Linked DNA regions of Homo sapiens: all the other regions are linked to region 5. Evidence: promoter capture Hi-C in 16 types of primary human blood cells and fetal thymus (Javierre and others, 2016). All regions are on one chromosome and are shown on one strand. The core of a region is centred on a gene start or on the middle of the fragment in contact, and the rest is flanking DNA. Distances in the headings are between cores, read along the strand shown. Region 1 overlaps KLRF1 (killer cell lectin like receptor F1). Region 2 has its middle 5.7 kb from the start of GABARAPL1. Region 3 has its middle 17 kb from the start of KLRF1. Region 4 has its middle 30 kb from the start of CD69. Region 5 holds the start of CLEC9A (C-type lectin domain containing 9A).

Evidence for each region. Contacts are between HindIII fragments. The CHiCAGO score rates a contact against its expected background, and 5 or more counts as called.
Region 1: a fragment that was not itself captured here is called in contact with the fragment with the promoter of CLEC9A in region 5 in 2 of 17 cell types (megakaryocytes and neutrophils); the score reaches 5.7 in megakaryocytes.
Region 2: a fragment that was not itself captured here is called in contact with the fragment with the promoter of CLEC9A in region 5 in 5 of 17 cell types (monocytes, neutrophils, M0 macrophages and 2 more); the score reaches 15.5 in monocytes.
Region 3: a contact is called between a fragment that was not itself captured here and the fragment with the promoter of CLEC9A in region 5, in 6 of 17 cell types (megakaryocytes, M2 macrophages, M0 macrophages and 3 more). The highest score is 13.6, in megakaryocytes.
Region 4: a contact is called between a fragment that was not itself captured here and the fragment with the promoter of CLEC9A in region 5, in 1 of 17 cell types (neutrophils). The highest score is 5.1, in neutrophils.

What each region holds. Positions count from the first base shown.
Region 1 is chr12:9,827,996-9,830,814 of GRCh38, reverse strand. All of the region lies in intron 1 of KLRF1 (killer cell lectin like receptor F1), which reads right to left. Among named protein-coding and RNA genes, the nearest start is that of KLRF1, 1.9 kb to the right of the region's middle. The HindIII fragment of the contact is 1,013 bases long and covers 804-1,816 here.
Region 2 is chr12:10,205,777-10,208,629 of GRCh38, reverse strand. No RefSeq gene overlaps it. Among named protein-coding and RNA genes, the nearest start is that of GABARAPL1, 5.7 kb to the left of the region's middle. The HindIII fragment of the contact is 3,050 bases long and covers 22-2,853 here.
Region 3 is chr12:9,808,978-9,811,677 of GRCh38, reverse strand. It overlaps a transcript of KLRF1 not described here. Among named protein-coding and RNA genes, the nearest start is that of KLRF1, 17 kb to the left of the region's middle. The HindIII fragment of the contact is 590 bases long and covers 990-1,579 here.
Region 4 is chr12:9,789,967-9,792,821 of GRCh38, reverse strand. No RefSeq gene overlaps it. Among named protein-coding and RNA genes, the nearest start is that of CD69, 30 kb to the right of the region's middle. The HindIII fragment of the contact is 2,133 bases long and covers 260-2,392 here.
Region 5 is chr12:10,029,421-10,032,120 of GRCh38, reverse strand. It overlaps CLEC9A (C-type lectin domain containing 9A), which reads right to left and starts at 1,439. Exons shown (of 9, transcript NM_207345.4): 1 at 1,149-1,439. It overlaps LOC102724020 (a long non-coding RNA gene), which reads left to right and starts at 1,498. Exons shown (of 4, transcript NR_169587.1): 1 at 1,498-1,578. The HindIII fragment of the contact is 4,478 bases long and covers 1-2,700 here.

The DNA.
Region 1 (2,819 bases), core at 61-2,560, 200 kb after region 5:
AATGGAAAACCAAAATCAGTCTTATGAATGTCTGTACAAAAATGGTAAATACATTATCAGCAACCAAAATATATTATAACCATGATTGGTTTATTCTAGGAATATAAAGATTATTCAATAGGAGGAAATCCATATTAATATTATATTAATAAAGCTAAGGAAAAAAATCTATCATCATCTCAATAGATGTAAAAAATGAAATTGATAAAATCTTATATCTTTATGTTAAAAAACAGAAATTAATAGATACTTGTTCAACATAATAGTTTTATGTCTAATGAAGCTAACATCTTATTCAATTGAGAAAACTGAAAGAAGGTTTTCTGCTTAAGTCCAGAAAAAGAAAGATAGCTCAAATCTCCACTACTTTTTAATACGAAGAGGTAATATATAATTCAATGAAGAAAAATATTCTAATTACAGGTAGAAATATTAGAAAAAGAAGGTAAAATTATTTGAAGGTAATGTGAGTGCAGATTTGGTAAAATAAAAGAATCAATTGAAAAACTACCGTTAATTCCAGAAACAAAAAATAGTAGCTGCATTTATAAAAATAACATACTAAAATCAGTGCCCTGTATAATCCAGTAACCACTGTGAAAACATAGATGAAAGAAATTCATTACTCACGGATAGTTAACCAAAAAAAACAAACAAAAAGAAAACTAGACAGAAACTCGACAAGTGTCCCAACCCAATACAAACAAAACAAAACAAAACTAACCGAAAACTGAGTAACATTAATTTGATCATGTGCTTGGATAAGAAAACTATGTGTCAAAAATATAAATTCTCCCTAAGCTTAATGACAGACTAGGAAGTAATTTAGACGTAAAAGCTACATCGGGTTGTTTTATTTGTTGTTGTTTGTGGTGAGTGAGCCTGAATAATTTTTTATAAAGTTATCTGAAAGAACAAAAGAGTGAGAATAGCTAAGTAAACACTGGAAATATAGAAATACAAAATGGTAAATTTTATGAAGGGTGCTGGATTTATGCAAGGTGGATTTCTCTGAAAGTAATTTTTTAAACTTTTTAAATTCTTATTTATTTATTTGAGACAGGGTCTCGCTCTGTTGCTCAGGTTGGAGTGCAGTGGCACCATTAGAGCTCTTTGTAACCTTGAGCTCCTGGGCTCAGAGATCCTCCCTCCTGAGCACCCTGTGTAGCTAGGACTACAGGCATGTGCCACCATGACTGATTAATTTTTTTATCTCTATTGTTTGTAGAGATGGGGGTCTTGATTTGTTGCCCAGGCAGGTCTTGAACTCCTGGCCTCAAGCGATCATCCTGCCTCGGCCTTCCAAAGTGCTGGGATTAATGGCATGAGCCACCACACTTGGCCCCTCATTATATAAGTTTGACTGAAAATATGTAAATGTTTTATGCTACTATAAAGTAAGTTAAACAAAAATGAAAAAAAATCCATAAAAAATGAAGAAAAGGAATCTAACTAGGTATTGTTAGTGTCTTCACTATAGAGAGAGGAATTACTTAAAGTGATTTTAAAACATTTAACTGTGCATGCTCAATGGAATATATCTTAAGGATTTTTTAAAACCGCAAAACATTTTAATCTGTTTTAAGTAACTATTATTATAATATTATTTCTATAGTGATTCTGAAACTACTACATATGTATAGTGGGATAGAGCAATTATGTAATTTCTTACTATCACTGGCAACAAAGGTTTTTCAATATATGAGAAAAGATTTACAAATATGTCATCACAAAATTAAGTTAAATGAATGAACATCATAACCCCAAGGCTCACATTGTCAATCTAATTCACATAAAATACGTCTTACCTCAAGCTTTAATAAATATTAGCTAAAGGTACAAGACATAAATATTAGTATGTGTCACTTAAATATCTGGGAGCCGAAAATCTGCACATTTTTGCTTCAGAGAGACATTTATGAACAGAGTGTGGAAAAAAGTCTGCAGAGAAGTCACTACATGTTGTAGTCTTTCAGGTTTAATATCTCTAATTTCCAAAAATGAAATAAAAATTGAGTGTAGGAAGTAAAGACTTGAAAATATGGGAATCTAAAAATTCACATGGAAGAGGCAATAAATTTCTTATACATAGCACGTATGTAACTCTAAGATGAATCACTGATGGATGATACTTGTGGAAGGACTCAAGAGATAAGTAAAATTTTCATGGGTGAAGTTATTAAAAGAGAAATATTTAGAAAGCAACAGAACAGAACAGACAGTCTCTATAACTGTGATTATTTGTGTCTTTAATTTCTGCTTATCTCTTTTGCCAAATCACATTAAGGTGGCATGATGGAATTGCATTGTGTATGGAGGGTATGCTTGAAGTAGCAAATTAAAATGTTGATTGCTGGTGTATAAACTTTATTTTGAGTCAACTTGGTGAAAAGCATAAAGTTTTTGAGAAGTTGAATTAAAAATTAGTATTAAAGGCTGGGCGCGGTGGCTCATGCCTATAATCCCAACACTTTGGAAGACTCAGGTGGGTGGATCACCTGAGGTCAGGAGTTCAAGACCAGCCTGGCCAACATGGTAAAACCCCATCTCTACTAAAAACGCAAAAAATTAGCCAGGCATGGTGGCGGGCACCTATAATCTCAGCTACTCAGGAGGCTGAGGCAGGAGAATTGCTTGAACCTGGGAGGCAGAGGTTGCAGTGAGCCGAGATCATGCCATTGCACTCCAGCCTGGGCAACAACAGTGAAACTCCGTCTCAAAAAAAAAAAATAGCATTAAAACACCATATTCTATGAATGATAAGGAGGTGAATGGCAGCAAATATTCACTAATTTGAAATTATTAATTTTAATTGAGTA
Region 2 (2,853 bases), core at 297-2,796, 180 kb before region 5:
TCTAAATTTGCTTGCTAAGCTTGGAATTTAAACAAGGGATTTTATTACTTAATTTGAATTTTTAAATAAGCTGCCATCCACAGATCAAGTGTCAAATACCACCACGATGTGCCTGGCTGACTCCAAGACTAGGAAAATATTTCCTGCCCCTGAACTATACATGAGTGGGTTTTCCTCCTTAATAATTTGTGTGCTTACATTGCTTCATTGCAGCTGCCACTACCTTAGTTTAATCTTCATTTTTTAAAAATTTTGGCTTCGTTCTAATGATCTGTTGCTATATAGCAAACCACCTCAAAGGAATGGCTTAAGATAATAGCATCATCTATTTTGCTCACAAATCTGAAGTAATGGGGCTCAGCTTTGGTTTTAATTAGTGACTGGTGATAGGATCTTCTTGGAAGGCTTCTTCACTAGCAGTTTTGGTAGTTGGACTGGGAAGACTCAAACAATTGGCGCTCCTCAGCCACCTCTTCCTTTCTCTATAGGATCTCACCATGGGTCTCTTCCCATAGTGGCTGCAGGCTAGCTAAACTTCTTTCATGGTACCTATGGGCTCTCTGGGCAAATTTGCCAAAAGAAGTCAGCAGAAAGCACATGGCCTCTTGTAATCTAGTCATTTTAATTTGAAAGGGACACTTCTGCCTCATTCTGTTTCTCAGAGCAGTCACAAAGTTCTGCTCAGATTCAAAGGAAGGTGCCACAGACTCCACTTCTACCTGGAGGAAGTATTGGAGAATCTGAGAATATGCTTCAAAATCACCACTATTGGGCCAGGCGCGGTGGCTCACGCCTGTAACCCCAGCACTTTGGGAGGCCAAGGCGGGCAGATCACCTGAGGTCGGGAGTTTGAGACTAGCCTGACCAACATGGAGAAACCCCGTCTCTACTAAGAATACAAAATTAGCTGGGCGTGGTGGTGCATGCCTGTAATCCAAGCTACTCAGAAGGCTGAGGCAGGAGAATCACTTGAACCCGGGAGGCAGAGGGTGCAGTGAGCCAAGATCGCGGCATTGCACTCCAGCCTGGGCAACAAGAGTGAAACTCCACCTCAAAATAACAAACAAACAAACAAACAAAACATTATTACTCAAACACATTAGTAAATAGTGTTCAGTCTTGTCTTTCCCACTTCTAGGAAAAAGAGAGCTCACTGATGCCAGACTAAATGTAATAAAGCTATATTTCATTGTGTCATTTCTCTTCTTAATATCATTCAGTGGTCAGCATTCTCTGTAATCTTTGGGAGACAGTTCAAATTCTTTACAACGGAAATAGAGTACTTACAATCAGGCTGTTGTTTCTCTCTTGAGGCTCATATATAGCCATTTCCTATCATTGTACTCTATGGTTCAGGCATACTAAATTATTTTCCCTATATTGGTATTGTTTCAGACCACTGGATATTCAAAGCCTCCTTCCTGTGAAAACGTTTTCTCCCTTTTTTTTTCTGACTAGTTTCTATAAAACATTCAGGGTTTAGTTCAGGCATCATCTTCTCTAGGAAACCTTTTGATCTCCTTTGCCTGAGTTCTGTATTCCTTCTAGGCACTTGCAAAGTATTGTGTGCTTATCTTTGCCATAGCACTGATAATGATGCATTGTTCATTAGATAAGATGATGCTGGCTGGGTGTGGTGGCTCACACCTGTAATCCCAGCACTTTGGGAGGCTGAGGTGGGCAGATCACCTGAGGTCAGGAGTTCAAGACCAGTATAGCTAATATGCTGAAACCTTGTTTCTACTAAAAATACAAAAAGTTAGCCAGGCGTAGTGGCTCGCGCCTATAATCCCAGTTACTTGAGAGGCTGAGATAGGATAATTGCTTGAACTGGGAGGTGGAGGTTGCAGTGAGCCGAGATCGTGCCATTGAACTCCAGCTTGGGCAACAAGAGCAAAACTACGTCTCAAACAAACAAACAAACGAACAAAAAACATGATGCCCATTACATGTCCTTTTTTTTTTCGGGTGGGGGGTGCGGGGGGGGATATATGTATGGTTTCAGAAGTAACTACTCTTTTTACATTGACACCGCATGGTTCTAGTGGAACTCACCAATCATAAAATCTCATTGCCTTGGCCATAAGATTAATCAGAATTTTTCCTTAGAATTTCTTACATATGAACTAAAGGAAAGGAGCCCCTTCTTCTTTGATGACGAAGTTTAGATGATGTCTTAGTCCATTCCAGCTGCTATAACAAAATACCATAGACTGGGTGGCTTATAAACAACAGAGATTCATTTCTCACAGTTCAGGAGACTGGGAAGTCCGAGATCAAGGTGCCAGCTGATTAACTATCTGGTGAGGGCCTGCTTCCTCATAGACAGCTGCCTTCTCACTCCAACCTCACATAGCAGAAGGAAAGAAAGAGGGTTCTGTCTCAGGCCTCTTTTATAACGGCACTAATCCATTTATGAGGGTTCCATTCTCATGACTTAATCACCTACCAAAGGCCTCACCTCCTAATAACATCATCTTATGGGTTAGGATTTCAGTGTACAAATTTGGCGAGGAAACACACGTTCAGACCATAGTGGATGCTATGAGATCAGGGGCTGCTATCGTTTTGGTCTCAAGCAGTCACCAGATAAATGAGATAAAGATAACACTCAGAGAGGCAAGTTATATGATAGGGATAGAGAGACATAGAAATATATACAGAGTTTGGGGGAGTTCTAAGGGCATTCAGGTCCCTAGTTTCAGATAGCCCGTTCCAGTAGTGAGAGATAGTTTATTTTCTTATTTTCTGTATATTATGGTGTTTTTACATTAAAAAAAAAATTCTGGCTGGGGAGAGACTGTCTTTACCAGACCTAACCAGTTCTTAGAGATAGCAAGGGCTCAGCTGAGA
Region 3 (2,700 bases), core at 35-2,534, 220 kb after region 5:
CTCCTTTCCTTCCTTTGTGGATCTCATGGTCTTTTGATAATGAAGATAATAAAAGATCCAATTCCGCCTAATATCTTAAGTCCAACTTTTATCTAATTTAACACTTTTCCTCTCTCTCAGCTTGGATTGGATCTGCTTAGTTTGGGACCATTAAGGGGGCAAGTGAGTATAACGGGCTCTGCATGAGCTTCTTCCCTCTCTAGTATCTCTTTCCATTCCCCAACCCTGATCCCCAGAATGAGTGAAGGTGAAACAAAGGGAATAGAAATAAACACGGAATAAAGATGTTACCAGCCTGGACAGTTTTAATCTGTATGCTGACACTCCAAATGTTTTCTCTCTTTTTTTTTTTTTTTTTGGACTACTTCTATGGGTTTTTCAGAAATTCTGCTCCTGGGGTACTCTGCAGTTGTCTGATGTGTGATGTCTCCTTTGGCAATCCTGCTTGCAAATCACTGTACCTCACCCCTCACAACTCCCCAGGTACCTTTTTTTTTTTTGCTTTCTACTCTATACTTCCAGCTTCTTTTCATTGAGGCTGACTTGCCTGTGGTAAGAAGCAGTCTTAGGTGAATTTTATTTTAGGATGGTTCCCAAATGGCTGCTTTGTATGAGATCTTCATCCGGCCCACAGGAAACACTCCCTTCAGCCTCACCATTGCTGGAAGTGTGGCTTAATCTACACATCTGCTTTTACTCTGTGGTTATGTGTAGTTCTAACAAACTCACATACTGAAAGTGTTCACCTCTGCAACCTCCAACTCCCAGAGGACACTTGCCAATATATGACAGAATCCAAACTTGGCTTAAGGTAAAAGAGAAGTTCTTTTGCTTATTGACACAGAAAGATATTGGGAAATGGGAAGTACACTGGCAAGTCACTTCATAAAAAAAATTCTCACTTCCTAATCTCTGAACACTCATAAACTCTTAATGTGCTCTGAAAGTAGATGATAGATCGAAATTTGAAATAAACACTTTTGCAAGCTTGTTAGCATGTCCTATATAGGAGGTCTAGCACCTATAGAATTGTTCTTGACATTTGTGCCCTCAGATAAAAGTAAACAGCAGGAATGACCACATTTTAATATCCTACTAGTCATTCAATATTTATGAATTATTTTCTGAGGACTTATTACATGTCAGACACTGTTTGGGGAGTCTATTTTAGACTTCAAACATCTTTTAAAAACAAACATTTCATTAAACTATAGGTGAAAATTTAAGCATATAGTCATTAAGTTTGTGAATCAGACCTATCTTGGAGAGGAATTTAATTTGTTTAAATTTATCAAAGGACACACAAAAGATAAGCCCTAGTTATTCTAACCACTTATTAACACAGCTACCTGCGATTTCTGGGAGCTTAACTTCCGTTCAGGCTCAGAAACTCTAATTTTGGGAATATACTTGGACCACATTGTTAATTTGGGAGGATTCAGATAAAGTATGAGAAATGCATTCACATTTGACTATGAGAACATCAAGTTATATTGTATAATACCAAAAATAATGGTCCCTTGAATATATCCAGGATGACCTACAAACAGAATTGTTCCTAGATAAAAACCCTCAAGCTTGTAGAAAATCTATGTTGACACTCACTATTCAGATGTTGTCATTCACAACTCTGAGTTTCAGTGATTTAATGATGAAATTTAGGACTGAGAAGCTTGTTTCTTGCAGATTTATCAACCTTGCTAATTGATCTTTATGTCATTCTCCTTTTGTATACTTCAGGTAAATAAATAAATATTTGATTTATTCATGGGGTGATTTTGTTTGATACATTAATCCATAGGCACAGTCAATATTTTCAAAACAGTAGTTTTACATCAAATAAAGCAGCATTAAAAAAAACAGATTTATCAATAGAATAACAACTTTTGAAAGTGGAACTTATTTTTTTAAATCAATTTTCTTAACCTAAGTTTAAATCTAAGTAACCCGCTTTTTCCAACAATAATAACAATTTATCTTTGAATACTACACAAAATCTCATGACATAATCAAAATTAACTGGGGTATATGGATGCTTCTTTCAAGAATTGGTATCAATTCTGCCTTCTGGAGCCAGTAAACTAAGCGTAACATCAATATGACAGCTGTTGGAACAATTTACGTTAACAAACTTATTCCCAGCAGCCCTTTTCCTGATTCTGGCTAAGTAGCTTTAGTTCCTGGAAATAATACTTAAGTTACGGTTTCAACTAATTCAAATCCCTGTTTTTTCTCATCTGTACTCTTAAAAGTAGGCATTTACATATGTGCATGTATGCAGAGGAAAACTAAGAGAAAGTTAAGATGGTTTGAAACAATCACATAAAAATTATTTCAAAGAATTGGGCCAGGAATGGAGGAAAAAAGTCCCACCCTTTCTTTTTAGATATATTTGTATTGATTTTACCTAAAATTCATTACTTCACACAATCTTATTTTGAGCTTGTTGGTCATTGAATTTCCCCTAGTGCTCTTGCATACATCTACAAATAAAGGCAATTCTTCCCATCTTGTTAACTTCTTCAGTTTAGATTTTAATACACTTAAAAAATTCATCTCGCTAAACTCTCAATTTTCTCCGAAATGCAGAATGTTTGGAGTTTATGATTCTATTACTCAGTGTATTAGATATCCAAGTTGTATGTCATCTATACATTGAATATATTAACCTAAGCATTTATAAAATGTGGAGTAAGAGAG
Region 4 (2,855 bases), core at 77-2,576, 240 kb after region 5:
TGTGGATGAGAAAGAAAGGATTGGGCAAAGGCAGATATTGAATTGTGATGCAGTAACACAAAGGCTTCAGCTAACAGTATAGGGAGCTCTGGAGGTGAGTGCCCTTTCAAGTTTATCTTGATATAAGGCAACAAGTCCAAGCTTTTATACTCCCACACGAACCAGCCGTTTGATACATCTGGCACTGGGAGAAAGTGTGACTTTGAGAAGGCACTTCTGTTTAGCTGAGAGCCATACAAGGAAGATTCAGTTGAAAGCTTCTGACTCCCAGGTGCTGAGACAATGAGGCTTCAGTCCAAAGTGGAGACACACCATTGCACCCATTGTAAATGGAAAACCAGTTTTTAAATCAAAAGATAAGGAAGACATATATATATATATACACACACACACACACATATATATACATATATACACACATATATGCAGATAGATAGATAGATAGATGGATAGATAGATAGATAGATAGATAGATAGATAGATAGATAGATAAATTTTCCTGATCAGACTCCTTTGCTTAGGGCTAGCAGCATATATCCAAAAGTCCATTAAAATATCCAACTCAATCTCCCACATATTCCAGAAACAAAAGTGATCATTTTGATTCTTTTCTAAATCTAATTTTACCCCCTAATTTCTGACTCATTTGAAAGAATACTGCCCACAGTTTTAGGAATCAAAGCATGAAGGCCATCCTTGACTCTCTGTCTGCATTTTTTTCTGATTAAATGACCCTACCTAATAAATCATAGACTGTAATGACTAGTAATGTCTTTAATTCAACAACTTTCCATCATCTCTACTTCCACTGCATTGGTCTTAAAGGCAGTCATCTCTCTATGGTATCCCTTTATTCCAGTTCATCTTGCACCTGTTAGACTGAGTAACTTCCAAAAATTGCACCTGTTAACTTCCAAAAATTAATATCTAATTGCAATTTGTCCCAAATTTATAAGAATTTATTACTTTCTTTCTGCACTTAGAATAATTCCAGACTATTTAACAGCATTGATTTCACCCTGTAATCTGGCTTTGTCTCTTGTTCCATTCTTCAGTCTCACTGTAGTGGACCATTCTTTCTCCCATCTCTAAGACTTGTACATTTTACCCTTGTCTACAAAGTTGTTGTTGTTGTTGTTTTTCCTCTGCCTTATTCACCTGGAAAACTGTCTCATCTTTCACTTCTCAGATTAAATATTTACATAATTTTATAGAATGCCACCTTGAGAATAAATTCTCCAAGATGTGTTCTACATGCCCTCATAATTACCTGCTTAATTGTCTTGCCAGACATGAGCAGAAACAGTGGAATAAAGACCTACAAAAAGCTATTCCTTCATAAAATCAACAAGAACATTGACAAAAACTGTCAAAACAAACTTCCTCAGAATACTGTGAATTAACCAAAGACTTGCAAAAATCTGGCAAGCATTTACTCAAGAAAATAGGTGAATTTAATTGAAAACAGTGACCTTTGTGGAGATTTAACTTGCTCTATTCCTATTCCGTATTCCTCAGCTTCACAGTAGCCTTGAAAAACTATAGTAGGTCTTACAACTATAGTAGCAGTAGTGAACTGTAGCCCAACAGGTCTCAGAGGGGCCATAAAGGGTTTAGAAGTCCCAAAAATTATTCTTAGAGTACTGTCATTATTCAAACTATCAAACATGATCTTGGAAATTCCCACCTACGACTTTAGTTGATCTCAAACAGAGCTCGCTCAGTGCAAATGACTTTTTCCCTAGGGGTATTTGACAAAAACAATCAGCACCTATTGCTGTACATTGCAGCTGCTTAATATGGAATAACAGCTGGGGCAAAGGAAAAGCTGACCAAAAAACTTAAGAGGGAAACTTAAGGGATGGGCTGCCTATAGTAGTTCATTGAAATGATACAAAATATTGATACAGCTTCAATGAATGGAGGAACACCAGAGTCCTTTGTCTCACGCCAATTTAGATAAGACAACATGGACACACATGGAGTGGTTTTAAGGAACAGAGAGTTTAATAGGCAAGAAAGAAAGAAGAAGCTCCCAGCTACAGAGACGGGGGGTCGGTGAGGGGTGGGGGTGGCTCCAAGCAGAGAGAGGAAACCCCAAGTATGGTGGAAACAATCTGTTATATTAGAAGGCTGGAGGAGGTGGTGTCTGATTTTTATAGGCCCAGGGGATTGGTTTGACTTAGTATGTCATTCACATAGCCTGCAAAAAAACTGGCTCTCCCACCCTAGTCTTTTAATATGCAAATGCAGGCCGCCATGATTTTCTGCACAGTGGAGACCTCTGGGGGTGCCATGATGCTTGGCACATGTGGTGACAAGGAGAAGAAGGTGGGACTTGCCATATTGGATGGACCCAGCTTCTAATAGCCAGCATTTGCATATCAAAGCTTGCTGGCTTGGCCCTTCAAGCCATTTTTTTGCTAAAAAAGAAATGTTTCTGGAGCTGCTTTTATTTAAAGAAAAAAACCTTACCAAGGACCACTTATCCTATCTGCCTGAAATAATTTCTTAATAATTTCTATAATAATATGATCATCAATATCATGAAAATGACCACACTGCCCAAAGCAATCTACTGATTCAATGCAATTCCCATGAAAATATCAACATCATTTTTCACAGAACTACAGAAAACAATTCTAAAATTCATATGGAACCAAAAAAAGAGCCTGAATAGCCAAAGCAATCCTAAGTAAAAAGAACAAATCTGGAGGCATCACATTACCTGACTTCAAATTATACTACAAGGCTATCATAAACAAAACAGCATGGTACTGGTATAAAATTAAATACGTAAGCCAATGGAACAGGATAGATAGATAACCCAGAAATTAAGCCAAATACTTATAACC
Region 5 (2,700 bases), core at 190-2,689:
CATCCTTGCCAGCATTGGATGTTGTGAGTATTTTGGATTTTAGTCATTCAAATAGTATACAGTGGTTTCTCATTGTTGTTTTAATTTGCAATTCCCTCCTAAGGTATGACATTGAGCATCTGCAACACTGAACTTAGCTCTCCAAACAAGGCTCAGCCTTGTCTGCATTCCTTTCCCTACCCTCACTTCCCCTTCTACTTGGAATGTTATTTGTAGCATTTGTTTGTCTCCTGTAACCCTGCCAATCCTTCCCAATCCTCAGAGCCTTCACTGACAGCATCGGGCGGCTCACTCGTTCCTGCTGCCATAGTAATTTGTGCGTAACTTTTCTTGAGATTTATCACATCCTGTTATTATATGCTGTTTCTTCTACCGACATTGGTTGCTACTCCCATTTCTCAACCTCCTGGCTTCAAGCAATCCTCCCACCTTGGCCTTCCAAAATGCTGGGATTACAGGTGTAACTAACTGCACCTGGTCTTGCTACTCCCGTTTCTAAATAAAATTTCAATCTGAGTAAAAACTAAAGCCAATTTCTTCCCAAAATGGTGGGGGGCACTGGACACAATATCGAAGACCATTAGCACAATCAGTAGCACCAGACAATGAGTCAGCAGAGTCACTAAAGCCTCAGGCCACGAGTTAGAAGACACTTCACAGATTAAAGGAAATCAACAGAGGAGTAAGAAATAACCAGGGATGGCCTCCTGGAGATTTCGTGTTTGACTCCCTTTCCCTCTCTATCTCTAAAGAGAAAGTGCAGAGGGCATTTTAGACTGAGGGATCAGTAGGAGCAAGAGTAAGGAAGCTACCTGATTTACAGAGGCTGTCTACTGCCTGCAGTATCAGGCCATTGAAATACACTTAACGTCTTTCCACCAGCGGCTCCAGCCTTCCCCTCCACTTGCATCTTCCCTCATCCATCTCTGCAGATGATACATACTCCCACATATCATTCATTATTTCTTAAATATATCAGCTCACACCTTCATATTATTTTACATTTCTTCAGAATCTTTCCTAACCTAGAATGCCCTTTCCCCTTTCTCCTTTAATCATGCCTTTCTTATAAAGTAGGTTCAGATGACCTTCTCTGTCAGCATCATCTGTAATGACATACCTTCCACCCTACTGCCAGTGGTTCTTACCTCTTCTGCAGAGAGTATCATCAGTTTGAATCATTTAGATCTTGGCTAACATGGGAATCTTTACCATTGTGTGGATCAAATACCCAGATCTTGATAAGAAAAATAAAAATGCTATTGTCACATAAATGGCTGGGTTTAATCATCTGTGGGCCTTAGAGTATGTTTTCTTCAGGACAAGGTAGGCCGTTGTGCTTCACAAGAGCTTGCGAGTTATTTGAGAAGAATCAAAACATGTTGCCAGTCTAGCAGAAAAGCATTTCAACTTCACCACAGATTGCCACAGCCGGGTACAAACGGAAGTCCCGCCCCCTTCCAGGTTGTTGGGGTGGGAGCTGCCGGATGAGCTGCTGCGGCCCTCGGGGCGCAGGACCACACCATCTGCGCAGCCTGCACCCTCGCGGCCCGGTAAACTTGACAGTTTCTTATAGAGGTAAGTATAGTATTAACAGACAATCTAGGAACCATAGAAAGTGGAAAACCTGTACACACTGCTGAGACCAGCTCGGTCTGGGAGACCCTAACCCAGAGGCGCTAGAGGAATTAAAGACACACACAGAAATATAGAGGTGTGAAGTGGGAAATGAGGGGTCTCACAGCCTTCACAGCCGAGAGCCCCGAACAGAGATTTACCCACGTATTTATTAGCAGCAAGCCAGTCATTAGCATGGTTTCTGTAGATATTAGGTTAACTGAAAGTATCCCTTATGGGAAACAAAGGGATGGGCCGAATTAAAGAAATAGGTTGGGCTAGTTAACTGCAGCGGGAACATGCCCTTAAGGCATAAATTGCTCATGCTATTGTTTGTGGCTTAAGAATGTCTTTAAGTGGTTTTCCACCCTGGGCGGGCCAGCTGCTCCTTGCCCTCATTCCCGTAAACCCACCACCTTCCAGCATGGGTGTTAGGGCCATCATGAACATGTCACAGTGCTGCAGAGATTTTGTTTATGGCCAGTTTTGGGGCCAGTTTATGGCCGGATTTTGGGGGGCTTGCTCCCAACACACACAAAAACTGGCACACACATTTTCACAGGAGCTTTATTCATAATTGCCAGACATTAGAAGTAATTATGATGTCTTTCAAAAGATGAGTGGATAAACAAACTGTGGTACATTCATGCAATGGAGTATCATTCGACAACAAAATGAAATGTTGTCAAACTATGAAAAACATGGAGGAATCTTAAATGCATATTACTACGTGAAAGAAGCCGGTTTGAAAAGCTATCATATTATCCTAGCTATATGACATTCGAGAAAAACCAAGACAAAGAAAACAAAGAGATCAGTTGTGACCAATGATTCAGGGGAAGAGGAAGATTGATAGGAAGGGGGAAGATTGCTGAGTAGGTAGGGCACAGGGGATTTTTGTCTGCAAAAATGTACACCCATGTACATAAGCAGGGCTCTGAATTTTTTAAACTTTTCAAATTTTGTGGCAGGGCCTATTGAATGGGTTGAGGGAGACCTTCCTGATTGATACCTACTAATGTATATACAAATTTGAGACAGATATTTTGAGGGAGAGTGGAATTCAGGTACAACATACCTATT